5 separate regions of the Homo sapiens genome follow, and all the other regions are linked to region 2. Evidence: promoter capture Hi-C in 16 types of primary human blood cells and fetal thymus (Javierre and others, 2016). All regions are on one chromosome and are shown on one strand. Each heading gives the region's core, a stretch centred on a gene start or on the middle of the fragment in contact. The rest is flanking DNA. Distances are from core to core; before and after follow the strand shown.

Region 1 (2,700 bases), core at 41-2,540, 220 kb before region 2:
TAATACCTGTAACCTCCCTCTTCTTTAAAGAGTTACCACGAGGGTCAAAACTGACACCACGTAGTGCCTAAGCGTGCTTTGCAAACTGTGAAATGCTGGACAAAGGTAACGGCTGTCACTGTTACCATGATCAGCTCCGTTCAGAGGTTGGTTCCCTCATCCTCTCCTCCAAATATTTTTGGCACAAGTCGTCAGCACCCATATGCGGCATCTGGGAGCTGAAATTCAGAAGCCGCCTAACGGGTTGTGAAAATATCCGTTAGATGTTCAGGCTATAAAGCTGGGGGGCCTTTCTCCAATGGAACTGCAGGGGAAACGCAGGCTGGCTGAGAGAAGAGCATTATCCGACTGGGCCAGTGGGGCAGGACTCCAGGCTGCCTCCCGAGCCTCTTAGAGCTGTAAACAGGCGTGATTGTTTTGGCAGGAGGCATCCCACTGTCAAAGAGGAAGCTGATGAGATGCAAAGCAACCCAGACCCTTTCAACTTCTCCCACCCGAGGGTGGTGTGCCCAGTGATGCGAGCACCCGGTAGAGGGACAGGAGGGCAGACATTTAAGCCAACAGATCTGAGTTTAAAGTCTGAGCAAAAAACATGTCTGTGGCCTACTCTCAGTATCCCCATCTGGCTTGCTGGGAAAGATTTTGAACATCCTACCGACTTAATCTTTGTTGGGAAAACACAGTTTTGGGATATGCCGAGCTGGAGAGTGGGCTCTGAATTGTGTAATATACTCCCCGACTGCTGGACTTCACCTGGTCTGGTAACTCTTACCTGGGCTCCGTCCATTTTCCAGAGGAGGAAACTGAGGCTCAGCTAAATGCATCAAATGACACGTGGACACGAAATAGCTAATAAGAAGAAGGACTGAGACGAGAATTGAAATCTTCTCTCTCCAAACCTGAACCCCCTGGCTTACTGGCTGGGTGATCTTGGGAGAGCTCGTGAACTTCTCTGAGCCTCTGTTTCCTTATCTGTAAAGTGGGGCTGATGATGAGACCTACCTCTGAGAGCTGTGAGGGTTACATGGGATTCTTACATGGAAACCACTTGGCCCAGCCGAAGAGTAAACACTGGGTGAATGCCCCCGGTTATTACTACTTTAGGGCACACAGTTGTTAAATAAATAGAGGAGTGGATGAATAAATAAATGCACTCTTTTCTCTACCAGGGACTGGAAGCTTTCTTTGCAAGAAGCCCATGAAGTGTAGGCAATTTCCTTTTGATGGCAATAAAGTTGGGCCTCGCTTCCTCTGTGATTCACATTCTTGAAGATCTTTCCAAATGCAGAGAAAGGGCTGGCCCCAGATCATCCGACATGGTCTCTCTGGTGATGCTGACAAGGTGACGTTTTGGATGATTATGCAAGAAACCTTCCAAGAACTGACCCTCTGCTCCAGCAAAAAGCTTTGAATTTTGCAAAACTGCCGGAGCATAGCAATTTCTCATCTGGCGCTGGCTCACCCAGTGAGCTTTGCAGGCATCCCAGAATTGTCTCTGAAACACTCTGCCCATTGCCCTCTCTTCGCCCCTCGAGAGTTAACAGATGTGAGCGCTACAGGAGAGGGTGACAAGTGGCCCAAGACCTGGAGAAGCTGGGGTGGTAAGAGCAGGGCGCAGGCTTCTTGCTGGAGTGCATCCCAGGCGGCCCCGCAGGCTCTCTGGTGAATACAGAGAGCATCAGAGCACACTCTGTTTCCACAGCACGATGTTCAAGGGACTGGTCCTGCAGCGACTGCTTCCCTGCCACATTTGCTCTGGGCTGTGGAGAGCTGGCTGCTTTCTAGTTTGTGTTCCTGAATACTGGACACGCATCGGGACTGTGGTGCAAATAACCCCACAGGATAGACCAGTTTAGCTCGGGCTCCAGGATTAGATAAACCACATACAATCCCCAACTCCAACACTGGCTTGGTGGGGCTTCCCCAGGAGCCAATCCACAGCAAGGACTAGAGTACAAGTGGTTTATTGTAAAGTGATTCCCAAAGCACCTCCAGGGGAGTGGACAAGTGAGAGAGGGAGAAGGAGGAAGGCAGAAGGGGGAACTAATGAGCCCACCACCACCACCTGTGGTCTACAGAGGCTCAGGCCTGCCGGGCTCTGGGAGACTGCCTGGAGCTGACCTCAGATCATCCTGGCAGAGGGGAGGAAGCTGGTGTGTTCTGATCCAGCTCACTGTTCTGTGTTGGTTGAGGGCTGCACAGGGCACTGCTCTCGGGCGCTTCTGCCTCGGCCTGTGCAGGGGCTGAGTGGGCTCCCACAGCCCTTGGACAAGAGGCTTAGGTCTTCAGGGCAAGGGGGATGGGGGTGCAGGCCCCCCGGTATCTGGGATATGAGATCCATCACCCAGGCTTGGATGGAAAGTATACTCAACGGAGGAAGTGCTCAAGGCAGGAGGCGATTACTATTACAGTTTGCTACTCATGTGTCTGGAAGGGCCCTTCCTTCCTTGCTTCCTTCCTTTTTTCTTTCTTTCTTTCTTTCTTTCTTTCTTTCTTTCTTTCTTTCTTTCTTTCTTTCTTTCTTTCTTTCTTTTTTTCTTTCTCTTTCTTTTTCTTTCTCTTTCTTTGTTTTCTTTCTTTGTTTGTTTCTTTTTTTTTTTTTTTGAGATGGAGTTTTGCTCTTGTTGCCCAGGCTGGAGTGCAATGGTGTGATCTCGGCTTACCACAACCTCCGCCTCCCAGGTTCAAGTGATTCTCCTG
Region 2 (2,700 bases), core at 74-2,573:
AAGAATTGAATCTGAGAAGCTGTACTTAAGGAACGACACTGGAGGAGCCTCAGCCACACCTGGAGCTGATTTATATGACCAGATTCTAGCTTTTAAACTGATGCTTTAATAGGATGAGAATTTTAAAGATCTTAGGAGGGGATGACTATATTTTGCATGTGGAAGGGATGTACATTATTGGGGGCCAGAGGGCAGAGAGTGGCAGGCAGTTGACATGGCTCCCAATGATCCCTGTTTCTTGGTATAATTCTCTCCCCTTTGGTGTGGACTGGACATAGTGATGAATGGAATGTGGCAAAAATGAGGGATGTTGCATCCATGATGAACTTATAAGAGACTACAACTTCTGTCTTTTTCACACACTCTCTGCAGCTCTCCTCAGCTCATCTTCTCTGACAGAAGCCAGTTTCCCTGTTGTGAGATGCCCTATGGAGAGGTCCACAGGGCAAGGAACTCAGAGTGGCCTCTTGCCAACAGCTCCAGAGTAGCTGGATCCTGCCATGTGAATGGGTTCCTTCTCTGGTCGAGCTTTGAGATGAGACTAGAGACCCAAGCAACACCTTGATTGCAGCCTGTGAGAGACCCTGGGACAGAAAAATCACCAACACTCCACCGGTATTCCCAACTCACAGAAACTGTGAGATAGTAAATGTTGTCTTAAGCCCACTAAGTTTTGGGGTGATTTGTTGTGCAGCAAGAGATAACTAACACAAGTCCATGTCAAGCATTCTCACATCTGGTAAATTAGTCTGGTCTTCACAAATACCCAGTAAGGTGTTCGGAGACACTACTAATTTATCTTCTTTCACAGATGGAGAAAATGAGGCTCCGAAAAGACACAGGACTTCACCAGGTGGGGCTAAAATTAAATTGCACATCTTCAAGCTAGGTGAAGTTCAAGTTAGCTCCAAGTTTTCTTTCTCCTCCTATCCCCAGCCACCAACCTGACGTGCCCACGGCAGCTCTGTACGTCCCAGTGCACTGCCAGTCCACAGCAGTCTGGACGGGCTACAATGGAAGTGTGGACTCACTTCCAGTTTCTGACCCAGAGAGAGAGATCCCAAGAGACTTTGGTCAAAGAGGGCGGGAAGGTAAGTCCAGTCTAGGCAGTCTTCACTCACAAGCAACTCTGAATGGGGAGAAGGAAGATGAAACCCCATGTCCTGGAAGAACCCTGGCCCTTCATAAGTCTCTGCCTCACCTCTCCAATCTCTTTCATAACAGCAGGAAACACGTGAACCACACTGATGTGTGCTGAAGCCCAGAAGTGCAGATCCCCACTGCAGAACTACTGGTGAAGACCAATGGATGGTTGCTGGGAAGTGGCCCTCCCCAAGATGTTCATTGGAGTTGCCATGGTGATCACTATACACAGGGCTCTGTTACCTCAGAGGGCTGATAGGCCCACCCGTAGGGAAAAGAGGCCAGGAGAAAGCCAGGATTGAGGCCAGGAAAAGGCAGGAGGGGCTTCAATTATTGTTCACTCTCTCATCCACTCTAGAATGTCAGTTGAGCCCCCACTACATGCCAGGTGTGCCAGGCACAGGGGGCTCAGATGCTACCAAGTGCAAAAGATGTTCTTGGGAGCTCAAAGCACTAAGTAGGGAGAAGAACTAGCTCTGTGTAGGAAAAAGGAGGAAGGACTTATGAAAGAGCCATTTGAGTTGGATCTTGAAGGATGCCTAGGAACTTAACAGTTTTGAAGGGATGAGAATATTAAAGGCATGGATGTGTATAACAGCATAAATGTAGGTCGAGGTCAATGGGGAAGGAGAAAGATGCATCTGGAGCTGTCTGATTTGGACACCCAGGGATCAGGGACCTGGGAGTAAAACTAAAGGAAGGGTCCTCTCTCCTATTCCTAAACAACAAGGGCTACAGAAGGAGATCAACAAAATTAAGTGACTTCTTTTCTGCAGAGAAGAAGGAGGCAGAAGTCATTGGTGCCAGCACTGGCCCATTCCTGTCTGGCTGTTGCTCAGCCTGGACAAAGAGTGGGTATAGTGAACGCCTCCTGCAAGCCCAGCCTTTCAGGATTTCCCCAGGAAACAGAGAGTGCTGTGGTTAAACTTGGAGTCCCCAGAATCTGGGCCTGTCACTTATTAGATAAGAGACTGGCCAAGTCCTTTAGCTGAACTTCCTTCACATGTGAAACAGATATCACCCAACACTAAGGATAAGGGTGATGGGCGAATAAAACAATTTTTTGCAAAATGTAGCACATTGCCTTGCACAGAGAGAGACATCACAAAACTCTAAGCTACTTCCGCAAGCAACCCATCAGCAAGTCCTTCGAAGTACACTAGATTTGGATGCCTTCGTCCACCTCCACAACTCCCCCTACTCCCTGGTCCAAGCCACCCTCATCTCTTGCCTAAGTATTATCTATTGCTGCACGACAATCTTGCCATAAACTTCGAAGCTTAACATACAACTGTTATCTCACAGTTTCTTTGGGTCGGGTGTCTACTCATGGCTTAGCTGAGTTCTCTGCATTGGGGTCTTAGCAGGCTACAATCCAAGTATTGGCCAGGGCTGCAGTCTCATCTGAGGTTCCACTAGGGAAGAATATGCTTCCAAGCTCATGTGGCTGTGGGAGGATTCAGTTCCTTGCAGTCTGTTAGACTGAGGGTCTCAGGCTCTCTCTGGCTGTCAGCCAGAGGCCATCCTCAGTTCCTTGCTATGTGGGCCCCCCAACAC
Region 3 (2,700 bases), core at 88-2,587, 240 kb before region 2:
CTGACTGCACCCGCCCTCCCAACTTCAGCTCTGCTCCTGAATTCAGCTGGAAGTTGGCTCCTCCTGCTTATGAGATTCCTCACAGATTTGTTCTGGTTAATTTCATAAATCTTTCCTCTGACTGTCAGTCAGAGTCACCAACACTTACAGGAAACCGCCTGTGTTGGCTATGAGGGCTCAGAAGCACAGGGAGGTGAAATAACTGATAAACACATTTGCAGAGCAACAGGATGACAAGTGCAAATTCAAATAGCACAAACTGAGAAGCAAGGCGTCTGGGAAGCATCGAGAAAAGAAATGAATGAGAGGATTCACTGGGGAGGGAGGCTTCCCTAGGGGCAAGGGCTGGGCCTGGGGGCGACAGCAGGCAGGGCGCTGCAGGACAGAGAGGATGACGTCTGCAAGGGCACGATGCGAGATCACCTGTGACCTCACAGTTGCCAAGGCCGATGGCCTTTTCTTGGTTCTCATCCTCCTTGACTTCTCTGAAGGATGTGAGTCAGCCTGAAGTGACCCCTTCCTTCCCGAGTCCTGTCCCCGTGGCCTCAGTGACCCTGCCCTGGCCTGGTTCTCCTGCTATCTGCCTGCCCCTCTGCCCCCCGAGTGTGGGCATTCCCATGGGCCTGTCATCGGCGGCGCTCTGCTCCTAGTCCACTCCGTCCCACTGACTCTCATCACCTTGACAGAAGGCAGGATCTCCCTCCCAAGCTTTGTCTGTATATCCAAAAACCCGTGTGCGTTGCCACTAGAATGAAGGACCTTCCTCCAACCTCAGTCTGTCTACAGCCAAGCTCCGTCATGCCCTGGTCCTGAGTGGGCTGCCCCCATCACCCAAGCTTTCTGTTTGTGACGCCACCGTGTGTTTTCATCGTCCCCAGATTCAACGGGTCACCTCTGACTGCTCCTCCTCCTTCCTCCCATCTTCAGGCAGCCTCCCTTGCATTCCTCACATCCTTGGCTGAGTCTCAGCCCACCTCTGCTCGGCCCTCCCTGCTGACCCTGCCCCAGTTAGCTCAGCCTCACTGCTGGGTTTCTATCTCAGCCCCAAGCCCATCCTTCCACAGTGTGCAGGGGAGGGGCCTCTGCAGACACATTTCTCCCTTGCTAGGAGCTTCCTGTTAGGCTCTGCCAATGGGAGTTCTGGAAGAAGAAGGGAAGGCTGGAGTCGGGGGAGAGGACACTGCTCTTCCCGCCTGCTTCTCCTTTTTCTTAGTACTACCCTAGCAATGGCCTGCACCCCAGCAGCACTAACTGCTTCCTGTCTTGGGGTGTGTGTGTGTGTGTGTGTTTCCCTACTCCCAGACCAGCTTATTGTTGCCCCCAGAGGAAACAGCGCCAGCGGGCAGTGCCCTCTTCTCAGAGATCCACACCTTGGCTCCCAGGGCCCCTCCTCCCTGCTTCTGGGCTGAGAGCCCCACATGCTTCCCTCTGCTTCCCCAGCCCAAGAGGTGGTGCTCCTTCCTGCAGTTACTACCCGTGCTGCCTCAGTTTCCCCCTTTTCCTCTTCCAGTCCTCTAGCACCAGTGTCATTCACATCCTACTGAAATCCTCACTGTTGAAATGCCGAGTAGAGTTGCTGGTTTTTGCCTGGCCCCTGACTTATGTAGTCCTTGGTACCAGGAGTGGTCTTAAAACATGGACCCTCCAGGATGGTTTGGAACTGGTTTGGTGTGTCTTGCCCTGAACACAGGGCTGGGCTCCTCCCAGTGGGAAATGGGTCCTGGTGCTCTGTGGCATGTGCTGGGGTCACGCGGCAGGTGACTGAACTCCTGAGGTGCCGGGACCAGCCGGGCAGGGCCCCTTCCTCAGGGGTCCGGATCCCAGCTCCCTGGGTCTCTTCAAGCTTCTGACAACCCCGACCTCTGCCCGCCAATCTGTGTCAACTCAATGCTGCCTTCTTGCTTCCTCAGTTCTCCAACACTTGATGAAGCAATTCCATACATTAAAATTTCTCTGCTGAAATGACGACTGCGTTTTCTGTCTTCCCGACTGTGCCTTGAACACTTCTTTTCTCTTCTTTTTTCTCCCGGCTGTTATCCACCCAGTGGGTGGCATCAACAGGTGGACCCCCATGACACAGTGCCTCCATCTTGGCAAACCTTCACACAAACCCCACTGAGGATTCCTTCATAGCCTACCCATCTCCACGGTCAGCCCTAACCCACCTTCCCACTCTCTCCCTAGTAATCCCTTACCCCAAATCTGGGCTCTGCATTCCTGTTCGCCCAGTCCCTGGAAATTCCTCAAGGCCACCTCCTTCCAGGTACCCCTAGACCAAATTCAAATCCTGTCCATTCTCTGCAAGGAAAGCTCAAAGAATACCCTTCCTGCACAGCCTCTGAAGGCCATCTCTCCCTCCTTCATCTTTATCTGTGTGGCTAACGTGGATCGTTGCTCAGTGGTAGCGCACGATGTGATGTCAGAGCAACCCTCCCAGGAGGCTCTATTACCATCTCCATGTATATCAAGAGGCAGCATATTATGGTACTTAAGGGCACAGACTCTGGAGCCAGACTCCAGCTCCATCACTTTCTAGCTGTGTGAGTTTAAATCAGTTACTTAACCTCTCTGTGCCTCAGCTGCAACATGTATAACCTAAGATAATCATAGCACCTACCCCACAGAATTGTTATGAGGATTTAATGAGTTAATATGCACAGTGCCTGGCATATATAAGTACTATTTAAGTGTTTTTTTAAA
Region 4 (2,700 bases), core at 186-2,685, 180 kb after region 2:
TAGGTTGCTCAGGAAGGGGGAGGCAGCCCTGAGTCCACCCTGAGCTAAAGTGCTTAACTGCTCTGAGTCACAGAGGCAGGGTGGGTAGCAGAGAAGGTGCAGGTGTTGGCCCTCCAGGCACAGGCTAGAATCCTGGCCCTGCTACCACAGTCGCGTCGCCTCTCAGAGCCTAGGTGTTCCAGAACTGCAGTCCTCAGCCCCCTTTGTGCCAGGCACATGGGAGGGCTTAACCCATGTTTGTTGGGTGAATGACCAGGCTGACCTCCTCAGGTATCATGCAAGTGTTACCAGAGAGGGGTACTGATCAGACCCCAAGAGAGAATTCTTGGATCTTGCACCAGAAAGAATTTGGGGTAAGTCCACAGAGCAAAGTGAAAGCAAGTTTATTAGAGAAGCAAAGAAACAAAAGAATGGCTACTCCATAGGCAGAGCACCCCCAAGCACTGCTAGTTGGCTATTTTTATAGTTATTTCTTGATCCTATGCTAAACAGGGGTGGATTATTCATGAGTTTTCCAGGAAAGGGGTGGGAATTTCCTGAAACTGAGGCTTCCTCCCCCTTTTAGACAATATAGGGTAATTTCCGGACATTGCCATGGTATTTGTAGGCTGTCTTGGTGCTGGTAGAAGTGTGTTTTAGCAAGCTAACACATTTTAATTAACATACAATGAGCAATAAGGATGACCAGATGTCACTTTCATTGCAATCTTAGATTTGGCAGGTTTTGGCTGGTTTGTTTACCGCATACTGTTTCTCAGCAGGGTCTTGATGACCTGTATCTTGTGATACCAGTCCTGCCAACTTCCTATCCCTTCCTGTGACTACAAATGCCTGACCTCCTGGGAATGCAGCCTGGCAGGTCTTAGCCTCATTTTACCCAGCCCCTATTCAAGATGGAGTTGCCCTATTTTGAACACCTCTGACATATTTCCCTACTCTCTTTTACGAGGGAACGTTTAATCTTAAGGGTTGTAGAGGCATGAAGATCCATCTTCTGTAACTTCTTCAGGCTGAATAGAGGCGATGATATTCCTGCCTAACTATTAGAGTCTCTTGGGTTTGGTGCAGAGAGGAACTGAGTAAGAAAATGTTGGTGTGTTCAGAGTCATTTGTAACTCTGAGTCCTAACAAAAGGTGATATCTGGAAGATTAATGTGTTCAATTTAAGGAAGCACTGAGTAAGCTTATCTTGCATTCTTACACAAAGAGTATAGCAGCAATATATTCTACAACAGCAAAGTAAAATAAGTAAAATTATCCCAAGTAATCCAAATAAGAAGGCTTTCCATGAACTGGGCAAGAATGCCTGTGACTTATCGGGTAAAATGAGGCTGAGACCTACTGGGCTGCATTCCCAGGAGGTTAGGCATTCTTAGTCACAGGAATTGCTAGATGAGCTGATACGGAGTTGCTAGACGATTCCAATACATGCTCAGAATTAGATACTGATCCAGATTTTTATGTTATCCATCCCTCTTGTTTCTGACGAGAAGCAGTCAAGAGATGACTGTTTGGTTCACAGAAAGAAGCAAGGTCAGTCTAAATTGCAGACAAAAAACTCAAAAACAATGGATGAGACTAGAATCTATGACAGGTGTACCATATTTTTTGAAACACCGTTTTTCTCTCTCCAGTCTCCCATTTTTTATTAAAAACAAATCATGGTAGGACCAATTTATTTGCAAAATAAGCTTTAGTCTTATTATACTTGGCTTCATTATTTGCATAAAGTGCAGCAAGTATAATTATTTGCCATACAGGCTCCTTTTAAAATTGGCTTTGTTTCATAAGGTATCTTAGATTAGATGTTTTAAAGCTTTGAGCCCAGCCATGGATTTACCTATGCCTGCAAGAACCTGTATGAGTTAGATAAATTCCTCTCCTCTTGAGGTCCCGAGATAACTCGGGGCTCCCAGGCCTGTCAGAAAGTTACATTCTTTACTTACCACAGGTCAGGAACCCTATACAGGGACTTCATACACAAGGTACAAGACCAGTTTTTCCAAGAGGCTTTTATTGGCTCTATTAGTCAACTTTAATTCCTTAAAGAAGTCTGTTTATATTTGAAAGCATGCCACTCGAGTCAAACCCTTGTTAAATAACCAGTTTCTCCAATTGTGTCCTGTTACAAAAAAAAAAAAAGAAGAAAGAAGGAAAAACAGATTCTTACTGCACTTATGCAAATAACTATATTGCCGTAAGTTAAGAACACTCACAAATAGTTTCCAAATTCTGCAGAAATCAGGTAAAGAGAAAAAAACATATTCCAAATTTTGTTTTTGGACAAAACTTTGTTTTATAATCCTTACCGGAGCGTACTTTACTCAATTGTTAAAAGCTGTAAATAGCTCAAGAAGGGGGGGTTTCTTGACTCTGAAAAACAAAACAGAAAGATCAACAACATTTTAAGCAAAAAGTCATAAAAGATTATTTCAGTCTTTTATTAGTTCAGTCTATGCAATTAATTCCTGTTTTGCTTGATATATATGTGTTAGTTTTCCAAGAGTCTTGGATGATGTTTTCTTTTTCTCTGCATTTAAGAGTACTCATCAGAGTCCTATAGCTGATTATAAACCACCTTTTGAAGAGAATAAAAGCAAGACAACAATTGTCTATGGATGACAGAAAGACTTAGAGCAGTCATGGTTAAAGAATTAATATCATTGACTAGGAAATGTGGATACCTCTGTGGCATATAAT
Region 5 (2,700 bases), core at 72-2,571, 200 kb after region 2:
CTGAGAAGGATCAAAGGCCATGACAGTCCTGAATAGTGCAGGGCGATGGCCCCTGGCTCTCTGCTTGTCCTCTACATGCTTCGGCCTTCCCCCCAAAGACACCTGGCTTATGCTTGCCAGTGCCGACTGACTCACTGGCACCCCAGGCCTGGGGCCTGATCCCAGGAGCACACCCTACAGGCCCAGCGCTGGGGGCTTGGGCTCTGCTGCACAGCGATGATGCCAAATTGCTGTGTGACCTCGGGCAAGTCACTTCTCCCCGCTGCACCTCAGTTTCGTCATATGGAAGACAAGCGGACCCACCTCCCAGGGTTGTTTGCAGAGATTAAACGGAGGCGTGCCAAGCACAGTGCCGGGTATGGAGGGGGAGCTCAGGAGAGCTGCCACGTGAGCTGGGGAAGCCAACGACATGATACATCTGGCTCCCTCCAGCCCTGACAGCCTGCGATTCTGTGATTCCGAGATCCTAGAATCATGGCACGAGATTCTGAGACTAACGCCCCTGCCCCTGCAGCCGACCGGGAGGTCACAGGAAGGCCTCCCTCCTGCCTCCCTGGGAGTCCCCACCCTCTGCCTCCCCAGCCCCAGCCTCCCAAGTTCATCCTGGGCAGAGGATGGGCTTCCAGGACCCCACCCTTCGGGACATCATCCGGGCCCCAGCCTCCTTACCTGCCCATGGGGTGAGGGCTTCCCTCCTTGCCGCCAGGCTGGTTATCATTCTGCTGTCCCCTCTCCCTGCCCAGTCCCCAGGTGCCCCCAGGGCACTCCTAACTAGGGTCCCCACAAGGCACCCACTTCTAGACCGCTTGCGGGCTCAGGTTCCCTCCCAGGCCCTCGGCCACGGCTGTCCACAGAGCCTCTCCCATCTGGTCTCCGGCCCTGACTTCCCAACCAGAGCCTGGTACGTCACCCCCCATCTCCAGGACACATCCTGGGGGGGCAGGGGCAAGGATAGGGGGGAGAAGCTTCCCAGGGTGAGGAAGAGAAGAGGGGAGCAAGGGACACAGAAGCCAATAGAAATAGAGGGGAAAGGGGGTCGGGAGGAGGTGGAGAAAGAGAGAGAGAGAGAAAGAGGGAGGGGGAGAGAGAGAGAGGGAGAGGGAGAGGAGACCGTGAGTAGGAGGAAAGGCAGAATGAGGGGGAGTGATGAGAGATGCGTGACAGGGAGAAGACGAGAAGGAAAGAGAGGAGAGGAGACACGGGTGAGAGGGAGAGATGCAGAGAGAGGCAGGAGGGAGGAAGGAGAATGAGGGGGTGGCAGGGAGAGTGACAGAGAGGGACTGTGCCACAGATGGTGACATGGAGCCCGTGAAGGAGGGAGTAAGCAGGGAGGGGCTGAGGGCCGGAGAGCAGGTGTGGGGGGTGGGGGCGGGGTGCAGGTTAAGGGAGGAGGCCCGGAGAGGGAGCAGGAGGGGCGCAGACCCTGTTACCGGGGAGATTTCAGCCACCCACGCCCGCTGGCCTTGGCTCCTGCAGGGAGTTGGAGAGAAGAATGTGCTCAGTGCTCAGGGGAGCCGAGGCTGCCAGCCAGTAGCCAGAGCAGCTCGTGAGGCCACTGCGGCACAGGTCCCCCGGGGCAGCAGCTGTGTCCCAAGGCAAGGCTGGGTGTGGGGCTGGCCAGCCCGGGAGTCCACAGTCCAGCCCTGCAGTCGGGCACACCGGCCGCAGCACGGACCACTGGGGAGGCCGGGTGGGGGTCATTAGTCCTGGGATTGGTTACATCTGGAGAGCCCCAGGCAGGGTGAGGAGTGGAAGGACAGAACAGAGAACCAATATTTTAGGCTTTGAGGGCAAAATCATTGTGCAGTGAGAAAACAGATTTTTACTATTTTGTAACTGACAAAACTCAAAATAGAATAATAATAATTGAGGCCAGTATTTTGTAATGTAGGTCCACTCATGAGAAGAATAGAGTTCTTTTTACAGACATCACCTTTTGCTTAATTGGAGTTTAGAGTTAGTGTTTCATCAAACCGATTGCAAATGTTCATCCGTAAAAACCATTCTCAGCTCCTAGGCTGTACAAAAACAGGCAGTGGGTGGGATTTGCCCCGTGGGCCATATTTACTGATCTTTGGTCTAAGAGACTCTGCCGTACAGTCCTGAGCACAGGCCCAGATGTCTTGGGATGCCGTGCCCCTGCCTGTGCTGATTCCTGCCTCAGCACAGGAGTGATAAGGAAAGGAACAGTCAGAGACGGAAGGGAAAAGGACACACGTCTTGGCTGAGCACCTACTATGTGCCAGGCTGTACCTAGGCTGCTTTCCAAACTGGGCCATTCCCTGGGACCAGGGCTGGACCTCCTTTGTCACTAGGTACCTGGCACTGCAGAGAACTGGAAGTTGAATGCATCCAGAGGTGCCACCATGCATGCGGCAGCACACAGTAGGACACACCCACTTCCAGCCGGAGCCGGCCTGGTCTCTTAACGCTGCCCGTCCCTTTGCCTTGTGCCCGGGACAAGGCCCTTGCTCCAGGTCTCAGCCTCCCATTGTCCTTGTCCGTACAAGTTCATGAGGTGTGGGTGGGCTCCTGGGAGCGTGTCCTCAGGGTCAAGGGTGGGTTTTCCATGGCACTGACCACCCACCCCTACCCACGGCTTCTCACTGCCCTCAGAATAAAGCTCTCTCGCCGCAGCCCACCTGGCACTGCATCCTTGATTCCTGCCGCCTGCGCGGGCCTCCTCCTCTGCTGATTTCA

Evidence for each region. Contacts are between HindIII fragments. The CHiCAGO score rates a contact against its expected background, and 5 or more counts as called.
Region 1: a contact is called between a fragment that was not itself captured here and the fragment with the promoter of CIMIP4 in region 2, in 9 of 17 cell types (M1 macrophages, M0 macrophages, megakaryocytes and 6 more). The highest score is 14.6, in M1 macrophages.
Region 3: a contact is called between a fragment that was not itself captured here and the fragment with the promoter of CIMIP4 in region 2, in 4 of 17 cell types (M0 macrophages, endothelial precursors, M1 macrophages and 1 more). The highest score is 6.1, in M0 macrophages.
Region 4: a fragment that was not itself captured here is called in contact with the fragment with the promoter of CIMIP4 in region 2 in 2 of 17 cell types (M2 macrophages and endothelial precursors); the score reaches 5.4 in M2 macrophages.
Region 5: a contact is called between the fragment with the promoter of SSTR3 here and the fragment with the promoter of CIMIP4 in region 2, in 10 of 17 cell types (neutrophils, M1 macrophages, M2 macrophages and 7 more). The highest score is 12.3, in neutrophils.

Annotation. Positions count from the first base shown.
Region 1 is chr22:36,786,119-36,788,818 of GRCh38, forward strand. No RefSeq gene overlaps it. Among named protein-coding and RNA genes, the nearest start is that of IFT27, 11 kb to the left of the region's middle. The HindIII fragment of the contact is 226 bases long and covers 1,178-1,403 here.
Region 2 is chr22:37,006,528-37,009,227 of GRCh38, forward strand. CIMIP4 (ciliary microtubule inner protein 4) reads right to left here and starts at 1,324. Exons shown (of 6, transcript NM_001163857.2): 1 at 1,202-1,324. The HindIII fragment of the contact is 2,868 bases long and covers 1-2,420 here.
Region 3 is chr22:36,769,780-36,772,479 of GRCh38, forward strand. The region is part of intron 1 of IFT27 (intraflagellar transport 27); the gene reads right to left. Among named protein-coding and RNA genes, the nearest start is that of IFT27, 5.0 kb to the right of the region's middle. The HindIII fragment of the contact is 1,007 bases long and covers 835-1,841 here.
Region 4 is chr22:37,188,556-37,191,255 of GRCh38, forward strand. It overlaps a transcript of C1QTNF6 not described here. Among named protein-coding and RNA genes, the nearest start is that of C1QTNF6, 1.7 kb to the left of the region's middle. RefSeq lists enhancers at 1-65, 66-701, 702-1,335. The HindIII fragment of the contact is 508 bases long and covers 1,182-1,689 here.
Region 5 is chr22:37,211,156-37,213,855 of GRCh38, forward strand. It overlaps SSTR3 (somatostatin receptor 3), which reads right to left and starts at 1,322. Exons shown (of 2, transcript NM_001051.5): 1 at 670-1,322. RefSeq lists an enhancer at 161-1,140. The HindIII fragment of the contact is 10,151 bases long and covers 964-2,700 here.